Regions from separate parts of the Homo sapiens genome. Here region 1 is linked to region 2. The links are contacts of gene promoters, found by promoter capture Hi-C in human tissues and cell types (Jung and others, 2019). All regions are on one chromosome and are shown on one strand. Each heading gives the region's core, a stretch centred on a gene start or on the middle of the fragment in contact. The rest is flanking DNA. Distances are from core to core; before and after follow the strand shown.

Region 1 (2,751 bases), core at 229-2,728, 36 kb before region 2:
AACAGAGTGAGACTCTGTCTCAAAGAAAAAGAAAAATGTCTATTTCTGTGTGAAAATAAATGTCAGGATGCACATAGTGAAAAGGAAGGGAGAAGAAACATGGGGAGAAAATGGGGATAGGGACACAGAAAGTGAAGAAACCTGTTAGGCTGAATTCGAAAGACAAGGAAGCAAAACATGATTATTGTAAAACAGTACTGGGAAGAATGGGGGTGGGGAGGGTACAGGGAATGGTCAAATCAGGATCCAGAGATAGGGTTTGGAAGTAAATCCATCTGACAAGGTTCCGTTTAATGGGGGTGGACTCCCCTGGGTGGTCTGTGCAGCCCCTTCCACATCCATAGTCTGGTTTCACACACACATTAGGCGCCCGGTACAGACTGAATGAGGAGAGGGCCAAGCCTCAGGGACCCTGGGTGGCAAATAATCCCAAAGGCTGCTTCAGCACCTGGCTCCAGGAGGATGACCTTCCTCCCATTTCTTTAATTAAAGGGGGACCAATCCTCTTCGGGCATTTGGGAGTCTATCAGTTTGGGACCTGTATTGTGGGATGAACTGGTGGCCTGCCCTGGGGCAGGGAGTGATCCATATCTCAGATTGTTGTTGGGGAGGGAGCTTGGGCCTCAGTATCCCTGTTGGTAAATGGGGCCAGGAAATGGGTGACCTTTTATGGCACTTTAGCTCTCATCTTCCAGTGCCTTCCAAATCATTACTTACTGTGAGAAGCTGGTTGAGATGACCACAATATGACCAAGTGTTAATGACCGTGTGTCACTGTGCCCCCTCTTTGTCTTTGCAGTGCTGTTGGGGATTTCCAGGTGGACGACAAGACCAAAGCCTTACTCAAGTACACTGGGGAGGTGACTTGGATACCTCCGGCCATCTTTAAGAGCTCCTGTAAAATCGACGTGACCTACTTCCCGTTTGATTACCAAAACTGTACCATGAAGTTCGGTTCCTGGTCCTACGATAAGGCGAAAATCGATCTGGTCCTGATCGGCTCTTCCATGAACCTCAAGGACTATTGGGAGAGCGGCGAGTGGGCCATCATCAAAGCCCCAGGCTACAAACACGACATCAAGTACAACTGCTGCGAGGAGATCTACCCCGACATCACATACTCGCTGTACATCCGGCGCCTGCCCTTGTTCTACACCATCAACCTCATCATCCCCTGCCTGCTCATCTCCTTCCTCACTGTGCTCGTCTTCTACCTGCCCTCCGACTGCGGTGAGAAGGTGACCCTGTGCATTTCTGTCCTCCTCTCCCTGACGGTGTTTCTCCTGGTGATCACTGAGACCATCCCTTCCACCTCGCTGGTCATCCCCCTGATTGGAGAGTACCTCCTGTTCACCATGATTTTTGTAACCTTGTCCATCGTCATCACCGTCTTCGTGCTCAACGTGCACTACAGAACCCCGACGACACACACAATGCCCTCATGGGTGAAGACTGTATTCTTGAACCTGCTCCCCAGGGTCATGTTCATGACCAGGCCAACAAGCAACGAGGGCAACGCTCAGAAGCCGAGGCCCCTCTACGGTGCCGAGCTCTCAAATCTGAATTGCTTCAGCCGCGCAGAGTCCAAAGGCTGCAAGGAGGGCTACCCCTGCCAGGACGGGATGTGTGGTTACTGCCACCACCGCAGGATAAAAATCTCCAATTTCAGTGCTAACCTCACGAGAAGCTCTAGTTCTGAATCTGTTGATGCTGTGCTGTCCCTCTCTGCTTTGTCACCAGAAATCAAAGAAGCCATCCAAAGTGTCAAGTATATTGCTGAAAATATGAAAGCACAAAATGAAGCCAAAGAGGTAAGGATATGGCTTTTATTACATTGGTCATTCATTCATTCAACAAATATTTATGGGTTCCTCGTGGGGCAAGGCATAGGGTAGGGGGTTAAGAAATTGCCCTCTGGAGTCAGTGGCCTGTGTTAAGACCAGTTATATGTCCTTGGGTATGTTACCTCACCTCTCTGAGCCTGTTTTCTCTTCTGTAAAATGGGATGATAAAGCTTGGTATGTGGTACCCTGAAGCTAGCCACCAGGCTGCCAGCAGGCTGGCAGGCTGGACCATGAAAACACCTGATGCCAATAGACTAGATTAGGATGTAGGCTGGAAAAGGGCATGGGGCCAGATGATCTCCAGTTAGTATTGGTTAATTGAGGTTATATTTTTATTTTTATTTATTTTTTTGAGACAGGGTCCTGCTCTGTTGCCCAGGCTGGAGTGCAGTGGCGCAATCTTGGCTCACTGCAACTTCCGCCTCCCAGCTCAAGCGATTCTCCCACCTCAGTTTCCCGAGTAGCTTGAACTACAGATGCCCCGCCACCATACCCTAATTTTTTTGTACCGATGGGGTTTTGCCATGTTGCCCAGGTTGGTCTCAGACTCCTCGACTCAATCTGCTCACCTCAGTCTCCCAAAATGCTGGGACTACAGGCATGAGCCACCGCACCTGGCCTTTATTTTTACTTTCTAATTGTATATGTGTTCTCACTGAGGAAGAATTTACGTGGAGTAAAGTGCACACCTCTTCAGTGTACATCTCAATGAGTTTTTACATCATGTATACAACCATGTAACCAAGACCCAGGTAAAGATATAGAACACTCCCAGGGCCCCTAGAAAGTTCCCCAATGCCCTTGCCAGTCAGTGTCTCCCTCCCTGCTTGGTACCCACCATCCTGGCTTAGGCGCAGTGGCTCACGCCTGTAATCCTAGCACTTTAGGAGGCTGAGGCAGGTGGATG
Region 2 (2,956 bases), core at 437-2,936:
TCTCGGCTCACTGTAACCTCCGCCTCTCGGGTTCACGTCATTCTCCTGCCTCAGCCTCCCGAGTAGCTGGGACTACAGGCGCGCACCACCACGCCCGGCTAATTTTTTTGTATTTTTAGTAGAGACGGGGTTTCACTGTGTTAGCCAGGATGGTCTCGATCTCCTGACCTCGTGATCTGCCCGCCTCGGCCTCCCAAAGTGCTGGGATTACAGGCGTGAGCCACCGCGCCCGGCCCGCCATTTCTTAAAGAAGGAAAACAGCTGAGAGAAGTTCGTCCAGTCAGGATGCACCAGAGCCATAATTTGAATACAGGTTTGCCTGGCTCCAAAATCACATTCCTTTCTTTCTGTTTAACTCTCTCTGCCCAGGATTTTCTTCATTTGTTTAAATCACCCTCCATCTTATTTCTCTTCGGTCTACACTAAGCAATACATCCTGCAATGAATTATTCTAGTCTTATTACTTCCTAAAATCAGGAGCCATAGATTAAAAACCTTAACAAAGGAAAGGCAAGAAAAGGTTCTTGCAATATTTCCACTATTTAAGAAACTCACTCATAAAACCTGAAATACAGACGTAGTGAACTTCTGTAATCATATCTTGCTTAACGGATGCTTAGCTTTTCTACGTTTAGATCACACCATAGCTGCTCCACAAACGTGTTTTTCTTCAAGGTATTGAGAGAACTGACTCTAAAACTTTCCCAAGCACTTGAAACATGTAGGACTACGCGATTTCTTTTGTTGTTTCCATTCCTGTCCAAAACCTCTTGAAAAACAGCAGGCTGAAAAAAGCTGTGCTCTAAGGAGCTAGTGAGGAACTCTGGATGCAAACGATTAGCCCCGAAGCCAGGGAAGTTGGCCGCCTAGCCTGCTACAACACACACCTTTCATCTCCGGCGAAAGGAAAGGTTTTCAAATGCTGCGGTGGGTAGGGGACAGGGATGGAGGAAGAGGCGGCGGGCAGGAGGTGGAAGATAAGTCCCAACCCCTAGAATGAACCCCAGAGTCTCTATATCCCGTAAATGGGCAACAAAATGGGAAGCTTGGCTGCCACCAGGACAGGAAAGCCCTGCTGGACAAGAGTGGCATCTTTTACTGAAAAAGTTGTGTGGAAGTATACGCTAAGCCAGCCTCGTAGTCTCCAGCGATGCAGGTCGTGGAACAACAAAGAAAACCCACCCAAGTAGCCCTTTCTCTGCATTTAAATGAGCAAATCTGGACATTTAAACTGAAACCTCACTCCAAGCCCCCAGGAGAAAAAAACCCACCTCCCCTCGCAACCAGGTTTTCCGGCGGCCGTCGCCTGGCGGCTTCCTGGGCACCGCGATGTGGAGTCCGGGCCAGCTCCCGCCCCGCCCCTCTGCAGCCCGGGCTTACCTCTCTGCGCGCCGCCCGCCGCGCCCGCTAGACCGCAGCGCCCCGCGACCAGCTGGACCAAGAGCAGCAGGCGGAGCGCGCGGGGCCCTGACCCCCGCGCCGCCATCGCCCCGCGCCCGCGCGGGACCGCGGGCAGCCGCCTCTCGACCGCCGCGCGGGGAACGCGAACTCTTGGGGAATGGAGCACTGAGTGTGAGTCGTGAGACAAAACGAGGGCAGACGCAGCAGAGGGGCCGCTCCGCGCCACAGCTCCCGCCGGGACAGCAGCCTCAGCCTAGCAGCTTCTGGCGGGCTCGGGACGCATGTGGAAGCTCCCGGCGCCTAGCCCCGCCCCTATTTCCCTCTGGCCCCGCCCAATCCTCGCCTTGTTCCTTTTGGCCCAGTCCGGTCTATTCATAGCCCCGCCTCCGATCCCCACCAACCCTTTCCCCACCCCGCCCCGCCTCTGGTCCAACCCTGTCTGCTCCTAGCTCCTCTTTTTCCACGCCTGGCCCAGCCCCATCGCCCTGGCCCCCGCCTCCAGGCCTTCCTTTGGGCAGGTGCGACCCTGGAGCAGAGTTCCAGGAAGGCAAAGACTTGAGGCTGGCATCGCAGGCGCGTCCTTCTCTAACCACCGGATGTCCTTGGCCTAGTCACTGCACACCTTAAGATAACAGCTATTCATTGATGTCTGCTCTGTGCTCAGCACCAAAAGGGGAAGCAGAGGGACAGATTGCTCCCAGCTGATAGAAAATGTAAATAAAGTAATTCCGAGTTGTGATCAGAAAGAAACAAGCTGGAGGCTGGGGCAGAATCACAGTGGTGGGGGACTTGCTCCAGGCTGCAGCGCTCTCCATGGGCCCCGCTGCCCACTCAAGTCTTTCTCACCAGGAAGTACCAGTCGCAGCTTGACTGCCTCCTGGGGCTGTCGTGTCAGCCAAGGGGTCCCCACCAGGAGACCTGTGTTGTGGACCAGCGAGACAACCCTGGGCAAGTCACTTTCCTCTCTGGGCCTGTTTCCTCGTCTGGAAGCGAGGAACCGAGGCAGATAAACTAGAGGACTCGGGAAGGTACAGCTCTGACACTCACTCAAGCCATCCCCGGAAATGATATGCAGTCGCCTCAAACGTGGGCATCGCCCTCCGTGTTGTCATCAATTAACATTTGTAAATATTAGTGACTATCTGCTACAGACACTTAGCACCTCTGGTGGAGATTGGTGCCGACTGCTGGAAACCCGTCTCAAATCCCTCCAGACCCTATATTTCATCCTCTCTGTCCATAATTAGAAAGCTTCATTTGGCTGAAGGGATTCAGGCGAATTATCTTTAAACTTCAGTGGCAGAGGGAGCCGCTGACTCTTCACAGAACGCTTTATGGAGGTGACACCTCTAAGACTCATTGTGAGCAAAAATTTCACTCCACCCTCCAGACTAGTAAATCTGTGAAAAACTAAACCTGGTTGCAAAGAATCTAAACAGCAAAATTCAGTGAAGATGCTCTTCTTAGGTCCAAATACAGCTGGAAAAATGTAAATTACATCCAATGGAGCCAATCTGTTTAAACAGGACTTAAACAAAGGGGCCACAGAAAAGGG

Evidence for each region. The method cuts DNA at HindIII sites, captures the fragments that hold promoters and counts their contacts. A contact is called where the count stands out against the background at its distance.
Region 1: a fragment that was not itself captured here is called in contact with the fragment with the promoter of CHRNA5 in region 2 in 1 of the 25 tissues and cell types used here (liver).

The regions. Positions count from the first base shown.
Region 1 is chr15:78,600,313-78,603,063 of GRCh38, reverse strand. It overlaps CHRNA3 (cholinergic receptor nicotinic alpha 3 subunit), which reads left to right. Exons shown (of 6, transcript NM_000743.5): 5 at 800-1,811. Among named protein-coding and RNA genes, the nearest start is that of CHRNA3, 19 kb to the left of the region's middle. The HindIII fragment of the contact is 3,886 bases long and covers 1-2,751 here.
Region 2 is chr15:78,564,250-78,567,205 of GRCh38, reverse strand. It overlaps CHRNA5 (cholinergic receptor nicotinic alpha 5 subunit), which reads right to left and starts at 1,686. Exons shown (of 6, transcript NM_000745.4): 1 at 1,381-1,686. The coding sequence starts at 1,486. RefSeq lists a silencer at 1,399-1,488 and an enhancer at 2,299-2,488. The HindIII fragment of the contact is 8,456 bases long and covers 1-2,956 here.